Linked DNA regions of Homo sapiens: region 1 is linked to region 2. The links are contacts of gene promoters, found by promoter capture Hi-C in human tissues and cell types (Jung and others, 2019). All regions are on one chromosome and are shown on one strand. Each heading gives the region's core, a stretch centred on a gene start or on the middle of the fragment in contact. The rest is flanking DNA. Distances are from core to core; before and after follow the strand shown.

The links. Contacts are between HindIII fragments. The study calls those that stand out against the background at their distance.
Region 1: a fragment that was not itself captured here is called in contact with the fragment with the promoter of BIVM in region 2 in 1 of the 25 tissues and cell types used here (dorsolateral prefrontal cortex).

Annotation. Positions count from the first base shown.
Region 1 is chr13:101,427,225-101,431,127 of GRCh38, reverse strand. No RefSeq gene overlaps it. Among named protein-coding and RNA genes, the nearest start is that of NALCN, 13 kb to the right of the region's middle. The HindIII fragment of the contact is 4,586 bases long and covers 211-3,903 here.
Region 2 is chr13:102,797,424-102,801,340 of GRCh38, reverse strand. BIVM (basic, immunoglobulin-like variable motif containing) reads right to left here and starts at 2,222. Exons shown (of 11, transcript NM_017693.4): 1 at 1,820-2,222. It overlaps POGLUT2 (protein O-glucosyltransferase 2), which reads left to right and starts at 2,365. Exons shown (of 10, transcript NM_024089.3): 1 at 2,365-2,852. The coding sequence starts at 2,671. RefSeq lists silencers at 596-1,025, 1,056-1,105, 1,666-1,935 and an enhancer at 1,996-2,215. The HindIII fragment of the contact is 13,413 bases long and covers 1-3,917 here.

The DNA.
Region 1 (3,903 bases), core at 1,254-3,753, 1.4 Mb after region 2:
TCTTCCTAGACAATAACAAAGATGTCAGTTACTCACAGGGTAACTCAAATGCTTAATGAAATGTCACTAAAAATCTTAACATGTTACTTTTGTGGATGGCATAAAATGGTTTTCCAAAATTAATTTGCAGAAATAATTACAATATGACTAATACATAATAGAAAAGAACTGTAATAGTGGCAGTTGGCAAATAAGACTTTTTCTTTTAACTATTTAAGTGCATTTTATGGGGAAGATACTAAAAATGGAATAAATTTTGTGCAAGAGTTAACATTTACATCATATCACAGAAAAGATAAATCAAAATTGAACCTTATATTCTAAATACAGTAAACATTAATGGTTATGATGAAATATTTGGACAGCTATTTTTTTCAAAATAAAATGACCTAAGTCTTCAGTTGATACCAAACTCTAAATTCTAAATGGAACAAAGCTAGATATAGATTTATAAATATAAATATATTGATACATGTTAATAGCATAAAAACAAAGGGAAAAACCACAAAGGAAAAGGCTAACAGAGTTTACTGAACTTTTGATACATCACAAAAAAAGTAAAACCTATACTAAATGGGAGAAATATTTATAAAATTTATGAAAAAAATTATTAACAATTCCTAATTTAAGACTTTGAACACAGTTTTTCACTAAAAGTCTACAACTGTTAGAACCACTGAAGAGAAAAAGTATATTCTTCTATGTATTATAATAAGCTTGGCAAAATAATAGCAACATATATGTCTTCATATACATAATTTGTGTATATGTATAAATGCGTACACATTCACACATATATATAGCAACATATATCTTATCAAATTTTATAAATTGATAATAAAATGTTAGTTTTCCAACAAAATAAGCAAATTGTAGAAAAAGGTCATAAAAACAAGAAATACATAAAAACGTAGTTCAAAAGTCAAACTCACCAGGTAAGCAAGAAAAGGTAAAATAACAAAACAATGAGATATGATTTTTCATCATTTCAACTGGAAAGACTATAGACTATAACACTGAAGAGGATGGGTGAGGCAGGCTCACGGTGCACCGCTAGTAGACATGCAAACTAACATTCTGGAAAGCCATCCACACATGAGCTCACTATATCGGATTGTGCAAGTCATGCTTTGCACAGACACCTGGCTGAGGGAATGCATGGGGCTGAAATCCAGGCCTTGCTATATTTTCTCCAAGCCATAATCCCTGATATGTGTTGAGTCACCCCATAATAGAGGGTGCTGTTTTCTTCACAGAAAGGCTGGACTACTAGTGGCTCCATCTATATATGCACAGAGCATACCTTTTGCTACAAGTGACTTATAGGCAATACCTCTAAACTACCCTGGTAGATAGGCAGAGACTTATGTACAAAAGAGATGCTTATTTCTGCAGTAGCTTTTGCTTTGACACCAAAATCCGCTTTTCTATAAACATTGTTCATTGAAGACTTAATTCCAGGTGGCCTATCAAGATATCCAGTTGAATCATGGGTTTCTATTGACCATCTCACTAAAAGACTTGCTGAGTAAGCTATGGCTATATTCATGTCATAATCATATGTATAATTTAATTTACTCAACAATAATGTCAATGTCAATATTCATAATATCACATATTCAAAAAGTAACTATTGCACACAGCATATACAAGATCTCTTTTGAGGGAGAGAATATAGCAGTGAACTAAACTGACAGAAATCCCTACTCTCAAAGAGCATATATTTTAAATTTTAAAAAGTAAAACTATGGGAGTAGAGAACAAATCCTCTGAAATAATATGCTTTGTACTGTTTATGCTTTCTTCTTCCAGTGCAAGGTACACTCTCTTCTACAACTGACTTGCATGATTGGTTGCTCTCCTGTTTAAACTATTGACAGATGCCCTTATTTGCCAGACCCAAAGTTTAGCAATTTATTTATTTTTAGCTGTAATTCTAATTTGCTATTCCAACATTTCCATAATAATTCAATTGTGCTACATCAGTCCTGCATTTCTAAAACACTAGTCTATGTCCTTAAAAGACAGGATCCAAGACTGCAGTTGTTCCATTATTCATTCAATACATATTTTTAAATGCCTAGTATGTGCTAAGCACTGTTCTAGGTGTTAAGGATAGAGCAAATGGGTGAAACAAACAAAACCCCTGCCCTGATGAACCTTCTATTTCAGTGGTGTGGACAATGGGCAAGATAAGTAAAATATAGAGAATGTTGGGTATCTAAAAGAACTAAGGAGTAAAGATTGTTTTAAATGAAAAAATAAGAAATATGGATTGGGGTGATGGCATTTTAGATGGGGTAGACAGTGAAGGTTTGACTGGGAAGTTAATATACAGGAAGCGAAGGACTTAAGTGAACTAATGCAGAAACAAGAAACCAAAACAGAAAACTGCATGTTCACACTTACAAGTGGGAGCTAAACATTGGGTACACACGGACATAAAGATGGGAACAATAGACACTGGGGAATACAAGAGGGAGGAGGGAGGGAGGGAGGGGGATAAGGGTTGGAAAAAACTACTTGTAGAGGCTGAGCACAGTGGCTCACATCTGTAATCCCTGTACTTTGGGAGGCTGAGGTGGGTGGAACACCTGAGATCAGGAGTTCAAGACCAGCCTGGCCAACATAGTGAAATCCCATCTCTACTAAAGATACAAAAATTAGCCAGGCATGGTGGCCCACGCCTGTGTTCCAGCTACTTGGGAGCCTGAGGCACGAGAATTGCTTGAATCCGGGAGGTGGAGGATGCAGTGAGCTGAGATCGCGCCACTGCACTCCAGCCTGGGTAACAGAGTGAGGCTCAGTCTCAAAACAAAACAAAACAAAACTACCTATAGAGTGCTATACTCACTACCTTGGTGGCAGATACATTTGTACTCCAAACCTCAGCATCATGCAATATACCTTTGTAACAAACCCTCACATGTTCCCCAATTCTGAAATAAAAATTGAAAAACAGCCCAAACAAGTGAAGGATCAAGTGAGCTCAAAAGATTTCTGAGGGAAGAGTACTTTATAGGAAAGGCTAGGTGCAAAGGCCCTAAGGTAGAAGCATGCCCCATAGTTCATGTGGCAGCAAGGAGGTGAAAACATCTACTCAAGTATTTTGTGAAAGATTCAAAGAAGTGTCCAGTGACTTCTGTTTCTGGAGAAAAAGTGGTCTAGATTTTCTAGCTAAGCTTCCTGGTAAATATAATTATAAAAGCTAGACTAAATATTAAAAATTTTAATTCTTCCTAAAAGCATCCAAGAGCTGATAAGACAGTCAGCAATCATCAGGCGAAATGCAGGCAACAAGAATGAATACTGGAATATAAGCAGAGGTTGAAGGCATTTCTACCATAAGGGAATTTGCCTATCCAGTTTAAATAAAACTTTTGTTTATAGCAAAAGAAAAAGCTATAAATCTTCCATTGGATTCCATAGACTTGAGAAGACAGAGGACAAGATTTGCCTTGAAGCTGAGCATAAGGAAGCATTGTCCCCAAGGATTTATAACTAAGAGCAAGCACTAGCACAGATTTTTAGACAAAATGCCTTCCCACAGGTGATAAAAAAAATCACATGCCATGAATTTTGGTCATCCTTGTACTATGGACTGTTGGTGTCTTTAGGTGTCTGACAAAAGCTAAAACAAATCCTCCCTAGTGAAACCATTTTCATCTTAAGTCTCAAAAAATTTTGTAAAAGATTTTTCGAGACCACTTGTTGAAAAAATAAGCAACAGAGAGAGAAAATTAGACACCATGATGAAGAATCTTCAGAAAAAATTAGACTGCAAAAACAGATCCAGAAAATATTTAGACTTTGAAATTGCCAGACATATAATATAAAATAACTGTATTATGTTTAGAGCATAAGTCAATAAAGAGCAACCTAAAAATATCTGTAGGAAATAAA
Region 2 (3,917 bases), core at 973-3,472:
CGCTGAACACCAGAGGTGGAGGTTACAGTTGCACCATTGCACTCCAGCCTGGGCGATCAGAGCAAAACTCCGTCTCAAAAAAAAAAAAAAAAAAATTTACTACTAAGAATGACTGCAGGACCTCAGGCTCAACTAATAGCTTACTCATAAAATCATGTCATAAGCAATAGAAATATGGTTTGCTCGTATGCAAAGCAAAAATTTATAAAATGGCAAGTTTAAAAAGCACCGCCAGAGTCATGATTGTTCAAAGTCACTGAACGAAGTGTTCTGTAAAATAAACGTCCATTTGTAAAGCCAATCTTCATCGCCTAGGTTGTAGTCTTTTCAGGTTATATTTTGTCTGTATTCTCAAGTATCAAGTTTATGAGAGAACCAAACATCTCTAAAAACCTCTTCAGTAAAGCCTTTTCGTATAACAAAATACCCTGATCGATATCCTGTATAGAAGGCAACTGAGGAGCAGGGGCATTCCGGTGACCTCGTAAGGGTCGAATATGCGCGGGAGGGCGAAACCAGAGGCGCATAGCCCCCGGCCGAGCTAATGCCACCCTTCCCACCCGGTGTCCTCCCGCGCCCTCCAGGCCCCTTCCTCCCCTTCAGACCTGCGGGTCCCCAGAGCCGAGGCGCCAGCCTGTCAAAAGATACCGGGAGTCCTCCGCGCCTGGCGCCAGCCTCCAGCCCGCGCCCCTGGGGAGGCCGGGAGCGTTTCCACCACCGTCCTCTGACAAGCTCGCCGCTCGGCCGGGCTCCGAGGCCGCCGGGACGGAGTAGACAGTCGCGCAGGCCAAGCCCCGCCGCGCAGAACCAGTGCGCGCGGAGGCGACGCGGGCAGAGAGGAAGGAGCGCGGCTGCGCTCCCTGCCCGTGGCCAACCCAGCCCGCGCCTCCGCGCGTGTCGCGGGCACCCCGAGTCCCCAGCCCGCAGAGCCCAAGGGCCGCCGAGGCCTCCTCGCCCCTACTCCCTCCTCTACCTTCCCTCACCGGCCGGAAGACGAGGCTCTCCGCCAGGGGGAGCGCGCCGAGGCCCGGGGGTGACCGCCTCGAACATGCTTGCCCCGGGCCCCGGGGACGCTGTTGGTGTTAAAGGGGGCCCACGGGCAATTGCTGCATCCGGGCTAAGAGCTGGGGCTCCGATTCGACTGTTTGAGTAAACGAGTCGGTATCATTAATAATGACAATTGCACAAAAGAAAATAGGAAAGAAACCCCCTTTCCTGGCGCCGAACCAGGCCCGCCTTGGCTCGGAGCCACCGGCTCTTCTGGGTTTTCGGGGCAGCTGGCAAGAGGGAGGCAGGCAGAGGAGGCGGCTCCGGGTCCGACTGCCAAGCTGACCAGGGCGGTGAGCCCGTGACTCCTGGCGGCGGCCCAGACCCGGGTGCTGGCGTGCAGGGGAAGGCGACGGCCGCTGCGCGCTGGTTCCCGGACCCTGCCCAGCGTGGCGTGGAGACCGACGGCCGCACAGGGGTCACCGGTATCCACATGGACACCTCCTAATCGAGCTTTGTTCACCAGAGGGCTAGGCCCTTCTTTCCCTGGCGCTTCTCTTCCCCCCGCGACACAGCTCTTCCCCCTACTCCTTCCCGGGAGAGCGCGCACCCATGCAGTGGCCTCCATCTGGACGCCACGGGGCTCGGAGAGGCGATGACCCCTGGCAGCCCAGGCCGGTATCGAATTAAGTAAAAATTTTGAATGCCCAGGTGGCTGCGCGTAGAGCGGCAGCAGGCCGGGCTGGCGGCGCCCAGGTGCCCAGCGGAGGGCCAGGCGCTCAGAGCGCACAGCCGGCCGCCACCTCGGCCCCTGCCCCCCGCCCCGGGGTACCTCTGGCCTGTCGGGTGGGGTCGGGTCGCTGCGGCCGCGGCGGAACCCGGCTCCGGACCTGGATCACAGCATCCAGCGCGCGGCCGGCGAGGCGCCTCCTGTTACCCTGGGGCCGGCGTCCCTCGTCCCATCGGAGCGAGCGAGGATGCTGCGGTGCCCGGCGACAGGTCGTCGGATAGCATTGACAGCACCTTCCTTTCAAGGTGCTTTATGCCTGCCCTCTCCACGTGCGGAGGGCAGGGTGACCAACGCAAAAACCTGAGCTGCGCCTCCAGACCCGTGCGCCCCTTTGATGGGCATCTGTGGTGTTTATCTGTCCCCCGAAAGCGGTGACCGAGAAGTAAATAAATGGGCGAGAGGTGGTAAAATCCTGGCAGTATTTCCGCTCGTCCTGTCGCGAACTACATATCCCAGGGAGCCCGGGGCGCCGGGACGCGTGTCCACCCCGCCATCCACTTGGAGAAGGCGTTACTGAGCCTGGCCCGACGCACGGGCCAATCCCCTCGCCCTACACCTTGGCTGGAACCTGAGACGGATTCGCTCCCAAATGATGCTCCAGTGGCAGGAGCAACTCAAGTTCATCATTGTCCTGAGAGAGAGGAGCAGCGCGGTTCTCGGCCGGGACAGCAGAACGCCAGGGGACCCTCACCTGGGCGCGCCGGGGCACGGGCTTTGATTGTCCTGGGGTCGCGGAGACCCGCGCGCCTGCCCTGCACGCCGGGCGGCAACCTTTGCAGTCGCGTTGGCTGCTGCGATCGGCCGGCGGGTCCCTGCCGAAGGCTCGGCTGCTTCTGTCCACCTCTTACACTTCTTCATTTATCGGTGGATCATTTCGAGAGTCCGTCTTGTAAATGTTTGGCACTTTGCTACTTTATTGCTTCTTTCTGGCGACAGTTCCAGCACTCGCCGAGACCGGCGGAGAAAGGCAGCTGAGCCCGGAGAAGAGCGAAATATGGGGACCCGGGCTAAAAGCAGACGTCGTCCTTCCCGCCCGCTATTTCTATATTCAGGCAGTGGATACATCAGGGAATAAGTAAGTCGAGAAACGGCTCCTTACCTATTTTGGATGGCGGTTAAATCTGTTTCTCCCTTTAAGATTTTTCTTTCCAAGAACTCGTTTCTCCACAGCAGTTTATATTCCAGGATATTTGGTTACCCATTTTTCTCTGTAGCTGTAGAAATTGTTCCGAATTATAATATATGCAATATAATGTATTGTATATAACATATAAAATAATCTCCTAGCAATTTTGATTCAGATTCCCACATTATCAGGGCAAGACAAAGTCCCTCCACTTTGCTGGAAATACTGTTTCTAACTACTTTTCGCATAAGCTATTATAAGGGATTTAAACCTAGTTGTTAGAGACTTGATGGGCTTCATCTTTCTCTGGTGCGGCCCTCAATTTTCAAGGAGACATCTGCAGGTAAGCATGTTTTGAAACTGAAAAAGAAAAATGAAGTACTATTTGAAACTTCAGAGTTCGGAAGGAAAGTATCGAAGTATTAATCTCCTATATGATTGTAACAAATATTTTGTTCCAATGAATTTAATACTTTAACATCATACTTAAAACTTATTTTTATAATTCCTATACTTCTGAAATGATTGTCTCTATTATTGGTGGATGCTGACTGTGTGTATTTCATACAGAAAAAAATACTGGAATAAAAGGTTGTCAAGTAAAAGGCAGGTTGTAAATTTTGTTATTTGGCAAAAGATGATACACTACCTACTACTTTGCTTTTGCCCATGGCTGAGCGTGAGTTTTTTTTTTTTAAGACAGGGTTTCACTTCCTAGCCTAGTCTGGAGTGCAGTGGTGCAATCACAGCTCACTGTACCCTCAACCTCCCAGGCTGAAGCTATCCTCCCACCTCAGCCTCCCTAGTAGTTGGGACTACAGGCGTGTGCCACCTCGCCTGGCTATTTGTTTTTTATTATTATTATTATTATTTGTAGAGACAGGATCTCACCTTGTTGCCCAGGCTGATCTCGAACTCCTGGCCTCAAGCAGTCTTCCCTCCTTGGCCTCCCAAGATGTTGAGATAGTAGGCATGGGCCACAGTGCCAGGCCTGAGCGTGATTTATAATACTGA